Linked DNA regions of Homo sapiens: all the other regions are linked to region 2. The links are contacts of gene promoters, found by promoter capture Hi-C in blood cells and fetal thymus (Javierre and others, 2016). All regions are on one chromosome and are shown on one strand. Each heading gives the region's core, a stretch centred on a gene start or on the middle of the fragment in contact. The rest is flanking DNA. Distances are from core to core; before and after follow the strand shown. Region 1 holds the start of ZNF551 (zinc finger protein 551). Region 2 holds the start of ZNF470 (zinc finger protein 470). Region 3 overlaps ZIK1 (zinc finger protein interacting with K protein 1).

Region 1 (3,852 bases), core at 612-3,111, 1.1 Mb before region 2:
GTCTAACTCCTATGCCTCTACATTCATCTCATGTCTACTCACCCCTGAGAAGCCTTGGCCACATGCTAGATCATAATCTCTGTACGACCCTCACCGTGAACACTTCTGTCCAAGACCTGTGTTGCAACACCTCACACAACCAGGGGCTCACACAGGAGACCTGTCCTTGACCTTCCCCTCCCCTTCCTTGACAACTATTATTATCATTGTGAGCAGGCTTCCCCTCTACTAAATGTGATCCACAGCTCCACCCCGGCCCACAGATTGTCCACTACCTTTTGGAAAAGTCTCCATTCTGAATCTCTCCTCACTGTTCCTGACCTACAGTTCCAGCAGCCCATGAACCATTCTCTGAAAGCTCTCATACTCTTAGCAGGTCAAAAATAAAACTTCTGATATCCCAAATGAAAACTACTCCTACTATGTACTTCCCCATCTTAGTTGATGGAGCTTCCACACTTCTAACTGCCAAAATAAAACCTTTCAGTCATCCCTGACTCCACTCTCTTTCTCAAAACTAAAAATTCAGGCAGCCCTACTTAAAAAATGAATCCAGAATCCAACTGCTTCTCGCATCTTCACAGCCACCATTTTGGCCTATCACATTCTATCACATTCACCTGGCCTATCCCAGTAGTCTCCTCCCAGGTCTCCCCACCTCATCCTTCAGTTGGCTTCCCATGCTGCAGCCACAGGGAGCCTAATAAGACCAGAACCAGATCACCTCCCTCTTCCACTCCAAACCTCCCACTGTTACTATTAAGTAACGAATAGACAACTCAACTTCTCAGGGAACCATTCCGGGTCTGACTTCTACTACACTGCTCCCTGTTCTCATGAAAAGAAAATAATTGTAGGTTCCTGAACTATCTTAGCCTCCTCTCCAAACTTAGCATATACTGGTAACTTTGCCTTGGACAACCTTCTACATCTCCTTTCCCCCGGCTGCCAACAGCTTCATATAATCTAACCTGGACTTAAGACTCTGGGCTTTGTATTTGCTCAAAGTCTCAGGGCCCAAGGCTAGACGAGTGGCGAGGCTCAGGTCGCCCAATGACCCTGGTCCAGTTTTGGAGCCAGGTGGCCTGGGCTGGCTGCACTATCTCCGCACCTCAGTTCTCAGTGCTGACTTTACCAGCTGCGTGAGCTTGGACAAGAACTCAGTCTTCCTATGCCTAACTACTATTACCTCTCTTCAGCCTGTTCTTCCCCTGAGCAACTTTTGGATAGCTTTAGGAAATCCTAGCCCAGTGTCCCTATCTGTTCACAAATCTCGAAGGCTGCCAGTGTCCTCAGAATCGTCAAATTCGTCAGGTGCAACTCTGCCTCACTCTATGTTCCTGCAGACCCGAGACGGACCCCAGGCTCCTGAATCCCCCCCAGCTTAGTCGCAGCTCCAAGTTCTGCACGCGCCAGTCAACTGCCCGTCACATTTCCGTACACACTGGGCGTCACAAACGGGTCCAATCCACAAGCGCCTTCTTGTCCAGGGTACTGGGGCCTGGGCTGCAGGGCTGTGAGCAGGCATCCCTCACTGGGCCTTAAGGCTTCTGCTGGGGGAGGTAGGCGAGACCCGGAGGACGCACAACTCACCTGAGCCGAGTCCCTCAGCGCGACTGCCGCCATTGAGCTCCGTGGACTAGGCGGGGAGCGGCGGCCGACCGGGGCGGGCATTCGAACACAACAGTCCCTATCCCGGGCCTGGCGCAGCTCACCCGAGGTGGTGTCGCAGAACCTCTGGCCCACTTTCGCGACTTCTCTGTCCCGTCCCTCAGTCGCGACCTCCACTGCAGAAACTGGCGGGCTGGACAAACAGGACAGAGGCCAAAATGACCGCCACGAGGAGGACGCCGGAAGTTCCGGCCCGTCGCGCTGCGCGTGCGCGGAAGTGTTGCTATCCTGGGCTGTCATTGGCTCAACTCCGCCGCCGTTTTGCGCTCTGCACTCTGGATAATGTAGTTTCCAAAACTCCACGGAGCTCTTCGGAGTGTGTCCACTGCTTTGACCTCTGCGAACTTGTATTCTGAGGTGCTGTGCCCCGTGCAGGGAAATGGCGACTTCGGCCTCTAGGGGAGAAGGAGGTATTTACTCCTTCTTAAAGGGGCTTTTCCCAGATTTCTGGGAAGTGTTTTCCGTAACTGATCACTTAAGTGTTTAGAGACATTATTTCAGACTCCACGAAGCTCAGGGTGCCCCTAGAGGCAAACAAATATTATTTCAGGGGGTTGGGCGCGGTGGCTCACGCCTGTAATCCCAGCACTTTAGAAGGCCGAGGCGGGCGGATCACCTGAGGTCAGAAGTTCGAGACCAGGCTGGCCAACATGGCGGAACCCCATCTCTACTAAAAATACAAAAATTAGTCGGGCGGGCCGGGCGCAGTGGTTCACGCCTGTAATCCCAGCACTTTGGGAGGCCAAGGTGGGTGGATCACGCGATCAGGAGTTCGAGACCAGCCTGGCCAACATGGTGAAACCCTGTCTCTACTAAAAATACAAAAATTAGCCGGGCATGGTGGCGAGCGCCTGTAATCCCAGTACTTGGGAGGCTGAGGCAGGAGAATCGTTTGAACCTGGGAGGCAGAGGTTGCAGTGAGTCGAGATCACGCCATTGCACTCCAGCCTGGGCGACAGGGGGAGACTCCGTCTCCAAAAAAAAAAAAAGAAAAAAAAAATTTGGATTTTGGAGCATTTTGGATTTTAGATTTTTGGCTCAGGGATATTCAACCTGTATTTTGTTCTCATTAAATAGGTTCCTCTTTCACTTTGTTATTGTTTGATATACTAAAGTTTTAATTTTCATGAAGTCTAATTGGTCTATTTTTCTTTTGTCACATGTGTATTTGGTGTCAAATCCAAGAAATTATGGCCAAATTCAATGTCATAAAACTTTCACCCTATATTTTCTTTTAAGTGTTTTATAGTTTTGGGTCTTATGTTTAGGTTTTTAGTCCATTTTGAGTTCATTTGTGTTTTTGGTGTTAGGTAAGGGTTCACCTTCATTCCTTAGCATGTGAATATTTCATTTTCCCAGCATCATTTGCTGAAAAGATCATCGTTTCCCCATTGAGTGGTCTTGGTAGCCTTGTTGAGATCATTTGACCATATACATTACTATTGCAAATGATATTGTTTTCTTAATTTCCTTTTCAGATTTTTCATTGTTAGTGTATGGAAGGGCATATGAGTTTTACATGTTGACTTTTGCATGTTGACTTTGAATTCAGCTACACAGGTGAATTTGTTTATCAGTTCTTTTTTTTTTTTTTTTTCCCAGACGGAGTCTCACTCTGTTGCCCAGGCTAGAGTGCAATGGCTTGATCTTGGCTCACCACAAGTTCCACCTCCCAGGTTCAAGCAATTCTTCTGCCTCAGCCTCCCAAGTGGCTGGCACTACAGGCGCCAGCACCATGCCCGGCTAATTTCTGTATTTTCAGTAGAGCGAGGGTTTTACCATGTTGGCCAGGCTGGTCTTGAACTCCTGACCTCAGGTGAGCCACTGCGCCTGGGCTTTTTTGTTTTTGTTCTTGAGACAGTGTCTTGCTCTGTCTCCCAGGGTGGAGTGCAGTGGCGCGATCTCAGCTCACTGCAACCTCTGCCTCCCGGGTTCAAGCGATTCTCCTGCCTCAGCCTCCTGAGTAGCTGGGGTTACAAGCATACACCACCATGCCCAGCTAATTTTTGTATGTTTAAATTAATCAAAGTTGCCAGCAAAAAAAAAAAAAAATATTAATTCCTCCCTTAGAAGTTACAATAAACATCTTTTTAAAATTTTTTTGAGCCTGTCACCCAGGCTGGAGTGCGGTGGTCTGTTCTCAGCTCACTGCAACCTCTGCCTCCCAGGTTCAAGTGATCC
Region 2 (4,442 bases), core at 1-2,500:
TGAAGTTTGGTGCTGATACTCCCAAAAGGTCTTAGAACTGTGTCTGGCACATAATAAACACTCATTAAACATTAGCTATTACTATAGCATGCAGGAAACTAAACAAGCACAGAACAATATGGCTAAAAATAGCCCTTCCTCCCCCTTTCTCTTTATTGGAGTGGGAGGCCAGAGGGGAGGGAGAGAAGCCCAAGGAATGGGGATATCTTCCGTTATTGACTAGAACGTGATTAAGCCATAGAAAGGCTGGAATGCCTCGGCATTTCTGGGTGAAGCTGTGAATCTCGCCTTCTTCCCAAATCCTACAGTGATAGATGGGACAAGGCTCTGACGGGTAAAAATCTAAATGCTGAGCTATTCCTTCAACAGCAGCAGAGTACCCAGAAGTAATGCTATAATGGGTAATATTACGGGTAGTGTTCTCTCCCATGGGCCCTTAGTGATATACCAAGGACCTGAGTCAGGTTATCTGGTTAGGTGTCTCTGGCCAAGTCAAGGTCCCTCCCTAACTAAACCCAGCTCCACTCTGACCCAAGGTGACCCTCCAAATCTTTCGACTTCCAGGTCCACTAGCCTTAGAAACGGGGGACATCCTCCTCCAGCACCTGAACCCCGAAAGACAGCACCCAAAACCTCAATGTCCACTCCGGCAGCCACATCCGTCATCTGTCACTCTTACCTGTGTACTCAGTCCCCATGGTCTTCGCTCCTCGCCGTCCTGTGGACATGGAGCCCTGTCCTGGGCTCTGCCCCTTCCAGATAGGGCTGACAGGAAATGCTTCAGCCGAGGCTGCCCCGCCCGGGCAACTTCCCCGGGCTCTAGGACTTTGCCCACACTGGGCTCTACGCAGTCGATACAGGGGAGAACGGGGTAAGCCTCCTCCGGCCGGGTTTCCTGCTCTTGGCCACTTAAAGTGCTTCACTCATTCCAACACACACCGCCTTCCGCACGCCGCCGGGCCATGCACGCAGGCGCAGATTCGCGGCCACGCACCGGACAGTCACACACCGGGCCGCCATCCCCGCGCGCGCTCGCCCCTCCTCAGCACAGCACCGCACGCTCACCACGTATGGGCACTCACAGCCACCAGGCCACACGCGCACGCTCACGCCCGCCGCCCACACAGGAACCAGGACACCGCCCCCGCCGCGCCCCAGTCCAGCCTCGGCCGCTGCCCCGCCCAGACCTCCCTTCTCCTCAGCAACCGGCGGGACGTGCACTCGCCCGGCTTTGGGTCCTTTCCGGAAGTGGGCGTGTCCTCCGCTGCAATAGCCCCTGGGAAGTGTAGTCCGGAACGGAGGCGGCGTTCAGAAATAGGGCGCTGGCTTTGCCAGGAGCGGCTCCTCTCCAAGCCTGGCGGTCACTGCCCTGTGTCCCCTTTTGGGCCTCTCCTGGTCCTCCTGGTTGGATTAGGAGGCCTCTCAGCCCGGAGTCTGGGTCGCCGAAGTACAGGCCCCTTCACTGAAGCGACCCACGGCGCAGGGGTTTCTGGAAGCCATCGCCAGGCTCCGAGTGTTCAGATGCAGCTGCCAGGCTCAGGACGCAGAGAACTGGCTTCCAGCTCGCAGGAGCGCCTGTCCGTGGTGGGTAGGGTCGCAGGCGTGGGGTGTGCAGGAGCAGTGGGACAGCACTGAAACGCAGTCGGTAAGGCGTAGCGGCTACCCTCTGGAGAGGAAAACCATGACAGGGCGGGGCTTGGGGCGCGGGCGGGGCCTACGCGATAGAAAAGTGAGGAGATTGGGATTTGTCTGCTTTGCACACTTGTGACTTTCTGATGGTGCGCGTGTGGAACCTGTTTTATTTCATGCCTACTAGTTACTGCTCTCTGATATACGGTACGCCCCTCACCTCCCCCCACCCCATTTTATCTCTCCCTGCTGGAAGGAGGGTTCCAAGAAGGCACACAGCTTCCGTCCTGTTCAGGGTTATATTCTCAGTGACTAAAACAGCACATAGTAGGTGCTTAGTTTTTTATTTTTATTTTATTTTTTAGGAAATCACGAAATCTAGCATTGCCAGTCTCACCATGACACAACATGTTATAGGCTGAATATGTCCTCCCAAAATTACTATGGTGAAACCCTAACCCCTAGTGTGATGACGTTAGGAGGTGGGACTTTGGGGAGGTAACTGGTTTTAGATTAGGTCATAAGGGTGATACCCTTATGATGGGGTCAGTGCACTTATTAAAAAAGAGGAAGGAGGGGTCTCCATGTTTACACAACCACCAAGCAAAGGCCATGTGAGGACACAGCAGGATGTAACCCATTTGCAAGCCAACGGGGCCCTCACCAAGAACTGAATGTGCCAGCACTTTAACTTCCCAGCCTCCAGAATTGTGAAAAATAAAGTCTCTTAGTCAAGTCACTTAGTCTATGATATTTTGTTATAGCAGCCCCAGCTGACCAAGATACAGCATCATAGATACTGGCTCACCAGAAACTAACTCACCCTCCCAGTCACACTCAATCACCCAAGGCCACACAGTGACATCTAGACTGGACTCTCCTGGATCCAATTTATGTCAGACATCATAAACAACATAATAAAGCCAAGTCTAGCTGTGAAGATACTTTAACTATGAAACAGCAAATATCATCTTAGAGCTTGTAACGTTTGTGGTTATTTGAGTTGGATGAAAATGATAATATTCTCATTTTAGCTCTGGCATATAAAGAGCTCGGAAGCCTTCATTCCCATCTTCACAACAACAAAATCATTCAACAAACTGAAAATCAACTTTTCTTAGATCCATCAGAGAACTGAAGATAGAAAGGTAACTGACACCCCAAAATCCCGAGAAAGAAAAATACATAAAATTACAGCCAAGATTAGCTTACTTGAAGCAGAAGCCACTGGAGTTATAAACTGGTAAAAACTTTTATTTTTTATAATTTTGATGAATTGCTGGAGGCTTAGTGTGGGCTAACTTGTGAGTTAAAAACTCCTAGGGGCCCAATCTTAGATGGGCCCCCACACTTTCGTGAATTTTACCTCCAGAAACCCTATCAAATTCTCTCAGTGAAGAATGGGGAAAAATCTCAGGTTTTTGGGCAAGGGGAGGAGAAAAGTAAGCACCACATTTTCCATAATAAACACCTGCACTCCAAGAAAAACTACTTACTAGAGTCTTGTTGGACCTTGGGGAGAGGCAATTGGCCAGCTCCAGTCCCTCTATAGCCTGTCTGTCTCAGTAAGGCAGGATTTTTGAAAGGCTAAGAAGTGCTTCTGAAGATCACAGTCCAAGGCCTCAAGCCCACTAGAAAAATAGTATTTAATAATAAGATTATAGAATGCTTCCCTCCCCACTGTACCTCACTGCCACACTAATGGGGCTCTGGTCAATAACAGTAGATTACAACAGAGAAAACTGCAAGGCACAGACTCTATTTAAGAAGGAGTTCTTAGGGAAGCCCACAGAAGGAGAAGCATCTTGGAAAAAGTAGACAACATGCAAGAACAGATGGGTAATGTAAGCAGAGAGATGCAAACTGTAAGAAGGAATCAAAAGGAAATCCTAGCAATTGAAAACCATTGTAACAGACATGAAGATTACCTTTAGTGAGCCCCTCAGACTAAGACACTCTGAGAAATGAATGGGTGAGCTTGAAGATATGTTAATAGAAATTTCCCAAACTGAAATACAAAGAGGAAAAAAAAAGAATGAAAAAAGAAAAAGAACAGAATATCCAAGAACCATGGGACAATTACAGAAGGTGAAATATATGCGTAACTGGAATACCAGGAGGGGAAGAGAGAAAGGAGAGAAAATATTTGAATAATGACTGAGAATTTTCTAAAATTAATGACAGGACACCAGGCCAGTGTGGTGGCTCATGCCTGTGATACATACCAGCACTTTGGGGGGCCAAAGTGGGAGGATTGCTTGAGCCCAGGAGATTGAGACCAGCCTGGGCAACATAGTGAGACCCCATCTTTAAAAAAATACAAAAATTAGCCGGGTGTGGTGCTGTGTAATTGTAGTCCCAACTACTCGAGAAGCTGAGGTGGGAGGATTGCTTGAGCAAGCCATTATCCTGCCACTGCACTCCCTCCTGGGCAACAAAGCAAGACCTTGTCTCTAAAAGCAAGAAAACAAACACCAAACCACAGATCTAGGAAGATCAGAGAACACAAAGCATTATCACAAGTCACCTTTTGACATTATCACCAGCACTATTCAGTCCTTTTAATTTCTTTCAATCCTTTTTGTTTCAGATTAAATAATTTCTATCTATATTCAACTTCATTAACTATTCTGCCACCTCAAATTTCCTGTTAAACCTATCCAGTGGATTTTTACTTTCAAACATTGTATTTCTTAGTTTTAGAATTCCCATTTTCAAACTGATTTACTCATTTGCTGAAATTCCCATCTGCTCATCCATTAATAGCATTTTCCTTTATGTCATTCAGAATAATTATAATAGGGGCTTTATCA
Region 3 (3,963 bases), core at 356-2,855, 1.0 Mb before region 2:
ATGACAGGACTCCTGAAGGCCTGGAAAGTACACGCAGAGATTGTAAAACAGCAAGAGGTGAATCATGAATATGTTCATGATCATGATTATGGTTTCACAGGCTTGTATGACAAACTCTTCAAATTATACACCATAAATGGATGTAAACTATGGCATGTCACTTACACATCAAGAAAGTTTGTAAAACATGTTTCACAATAAAGTATCTGATCACCCAACTTTCAGAAACCAGAATGCCTAGCAATCTCATGTTGACTGCACTCTCTCTTCAGGCCTGGGGAAGGGCAACCATGAGTCCCTCCATGCAGGAAATGTTGGCAAGCAATGAAGGCTGTGGCAATTTGAGACAACAGCAACACTGGTGGAAATCACAAGAGCTATCAATACATCCCTGGCCTATAGGACTTCTGTTATCTTTATCCTCCTTTTTCTGCCTCTACAGCAATGCACTTGAGGTGAACAACCTAGAAAACCAACAAGAATTAAAAAATAAAACCCTTTAATTATTTTTGCTGAAAATAACCTCAGCTATTGGACATACACAGATTTCTAGGTCCTATGACTGCTCAAAGCCACAGTCACGGGAAGATTTGTAAATGTACTTTTATAAGAGGCACATTCCAACTAGTTTGCTACAGTACACACAGTACAGAAATACCCAGGTATTTCTGTACCAATTACAGTTCACATGTGACTCGCGTTGTCTTCTGCGTGACATCGGCCTATGGAATGTTTGATATCAGGGCATGCCTCCTTATAGAACCCCATGAAAAGCTTCTCAGCAGCACTGGGCATCATATGACATCCTCTGGAAACAATGGAATAAAATTGTCCTATTCCCTGAAGCACACATGCTTGTCATAACAGCTGGCCTCTCCTCAGGATGACCTCTAGTCTCACAGAAAGAATAGGGATCCAGGCCACAAATTAGAATAACCAAAACCTTGCATTTTTTCCTAGGAGATTTTAGGTAGCAAAGCAAGTATGACCAAAACCAGAATTAGAATTACTCTGTCATCTTACTTTCCTGCAGAGGCCCACAAAAGCCATCCATTCCTTCATATAGAGTTGAAGTCTGTCTCCCAGCCACCCCACACAGTAAACAGAACCCCAAGACTACAGGTAGATTCAAATATAAGGCTTTTATTAGTGCACAAACTGGAGCAATGTGAGGCAGCCATTCACCACGTGGTGACATGGAGGCTGGAAGAATGACCAAGTGTCATGTGAGACCAAGAATTTACATGAAGGGAATCCTTGCACATAAGTGTCCAGCAGAACCAAGGCTGGGCCCTCCTGACCCAAACTGGGTCACACGTATGCTGTGATCAGTCAGAAAAAAGAATGAATTTTCTCTAAAGGCTTAGACTGCTCAAGATTTCCTCCAAAGACTTAAGAGAACACACAGATGTCTGCCTTGTCTTAGCACATAGGAGTGACCAGTGCCCACTGTGCAAGGTGGTAGAGGGTAGATGGTTTCTACCAGAGAAACAAGGAAGAATGAGGTTCAACTTCAGGCAGATGGCTCCCTCACAAAGGCTCTCTACTGCTACAATACTACAGAGACAGCACTTTCCCTGTAGGTCTAAGGCTCTACTTAAGTGTGGACTTTCAGGAGCTAAATGATGATAGATCTTGAGTTGAAGGCGCTTCCACATTTGCTGCATTCATGAGGCCTCTATGTGTTATGACATTTTTGGTGATGTATGAGGCTGGAGCATTGGCTAAAGGAATTCCCACATTTGTTGCACTCATAAGGCCTTTCTCCAGTGTGAACCACTTGGTGTTGAATGAGACCAGACTTTTGGCTAAAGGACTTTCCACACTGGCCACACTCATAAGGCCTTGCTCCAGTATGAATTCTCCGGTGTTGAATAAGGATGGAGCTTTGACTAAAGGATTTCCCACAGTCACCACACTTATAAGGCCTTTCTCCAGTGTGAACTCTCTGGTGTTTAATGAGGGTAGCTTTTTGACTAAAGGATTTCCCACACTGGCCACACTCATAAGGCTTTGCTCCAGTGTGAATTCTTCGGTGTTGATTAAGAATGGCACTTTGACTAAAGGAATTCCCACATTCACCACACTTATAAGGCCTTTCTCCAGTGTGAACTCTTTGGTGTTTAACAAGGGTGGCTTTTTGGCTAAAGGATTTCCCACACTGGCTACACTCATAAGGCCTTGCTCCAGTGTGTATTTTCTGGTGGTCAACAAGGCTGGAGTTTTGTCTAAATAATTTTCCACATTCGCTGCACTCATAAGGCCTTTCTCCGGTGTGGATTCTCCGATGATCATTCAGGTGGGAGGTTTGGCTAAAGAATTTTCCACATTCATTGCACTCCCAAGGCCTTTCTCCAGTATGGACTCTCTGGTGCTGAACAAGTGAGTACTTGCCACGGAAGGCTTTCCCACATTTGCTACACTCATAAAGCTTTTTTCCAGTGTAGACTCTTGGATGGTAAACAGGAGTGTGTTTGTGCCTGGAAGCCTTCCCACATTCACCTGACTTGTAATGACTTTTTTGACTGCGAATGTCCTCCCCACATTCAGTAATTGTGCCGGGTTTCTTGCCTCCAGGAAAGACCAGGGACCTCAGAAGCCGCAACATGGCTGGAAGGTCCTTTCCAACCTCCCATTTGCGAAAGGGCTTCAATGACATACAGAATAGGCAGCACTTCACATATGAGGCTCTGTCCATGTCCCTCTTCAAGGATTTCTTTGCACTGTGATGCTTCTGGTGCTGGTGATGGTTTGTACATTCTCCAACCAAGTATGGTTTCTGCCCAGGGAGATCAGCTAGATGCAAAATATCTTTCAGGACTGGGACACACATCTCACAGGATTGAGTCTTCTGTGTGGATGAACCTGCCTTTGACTGTGACACTCCTACAGAAACATTCTGGTCAGAAGGTGTCTCTTCATCCTCTGTTCCATGGCCACAACCTGAAAGCAGAGAACCGCTGATGAAATATACATTGACTATGCTGAGAGCAAGAAGCCCCATTACACACATACCAAACGAATGATTCACCAGGTTTGTTTTGAGGATAATGGAGCTGGGGGCAAGTTGAGGAAGGGGTTGCTTTGCAATACTGGATCTCTAAAGATCACAGAATGAGGGAGGCCTCACCAAATAAAGGACACAAGGATGGGATGAAGGACAGGGAATGGCATTGCCTTCAAACCATTCCTCTACCAACAGCCTCAAAAATTATCCTTGAGTAGCCTTCCAATTCCTAAAACTCACCACATAGTCTTCAGGAGGACCTTGTCTGCTGGTGACACCTGCATGCTGTGCAGAAGGTTGACTGTGCCCAAGCCCAGGAAAATACAATTGAAACTGAGTAGCAAGTGATATGATCACATATCTTCATGTGGTCATATATACATACTTCATGAGACATTATGTGTGTGTCAATGTTGGAAAACATTGCAGAGGGAGCAGTGCAGAGAAGCAGATGATGCATGAAGATCAGAAAGGTGGAGGTAGCCAGGTGCTAGAAGTCATAGATAAAAATAATAAGAGAGAGAAGTGTCAAGTACTGAGAAGAAAATATAGAAATGAGATTTGGCCAGTGGCATGTGCACCCAAACAGTGGTGAAGACAGGACAGGCTCCTTATGTGATCGGAAAACAGCCCGGATATCATGCCCCCAACCAGTTGCCACTCAACAAGCCCAGGCCTTCTCTGAGACCATGTTCACCCTATAAAGCAACCAGGTTTCTCTGCACACCCTCAGTTGTCTAGCTATGTGGGACCTTCATGAAGCCAAGTCCTACCAGAAAGACAGAACATGTGAGTGATCAGCACTGATGCAGAACGACTCAGCACACAACAGCCCATGGGCAAGAAAGTTAATATCATTAAACAAACAAACAAACAAACAAACTAGAAGGAGTGAGTAAGAAGAGCCCATTGTCCCCATAAGTATAGACAATGACAATGACTACAATCATGACACA

The links. The method cuts DNA at HindIII sites, captures the fragments that hold promoters and counts their contacts. A CHiCAGO score of 5 or more calls a contact.
Region 1: the fragment with the promoter of ZNF551 here is called in contact with the fragment with the promoter of ZNF470 in region 2 in 1 of 17 cell types (total CD4 T cells); the score reaches 5.3 in total CD4 T cells.
Region 3: a contact is called between a fragment that was not itself captured here and the fragment with the promoter of ZNF470 in region 2, in 1 of 17 cell types (monocytes). The highest score is 6.1, in monocytes.

The regions. Positions count from the first base shown.
Region 1 is chr19:57,679,986-57,683,837 of GRCh38, reverse strand. It overlaps ZNF551 (zinc finger protein 551), which reads right to left and starts at 1,861. Exons shown (of 3, transcript NM_138347.5): 1 at 1,594-1,861. The coding sequence starts at 1,674. RefSeq lists a silencer at 1,421-1,490 and an enhancer at 1,546-2,169. The HindIII fragment of the contact is 7,295 bases long and covers 1-3,852 here.
Region 2 is chr19:56,564,276-56,568,717 of GRCh38, reverse strand. It overlaps ZNF470 (zinc finger protein 470), which reads right to left and starts at 1,250. Exons shown (of 6, transcript NM_001001668.4): 1 at 680-1,250. ZNF470-DT (ZNF470 divergent transcript) reads left to right here and starts at 697. Exons shown (of 2, transcript XM_047439806.1): 1 at 697-1,645. The coding sequence starts at 697. The coding sequence ends at 1,635. RefSeq lists enhancers at 811-920, 1,301-1,510, 1,521-1,570. The HindIII fragment of the contact is 7,993 bases long and covers 1-4,442 here.
Region 3 is chr19:57,588,991-57,592,953 of GRCh38, reverse strand. ZIK1 (zinc finger protein interacting with K protein 1) reads right to left here. Exons shown (of 4, transcript NM_001010879.4): 4 at 1-2,943. The coding sequence ends at 1,679. Among named protein-coding and RNA genes, the nearest start is that of ZIK1, 6.8 kb to the right of the region's middle. The HindIII fragment of the contact is 1,657 bases long and covers 777-2,433 here.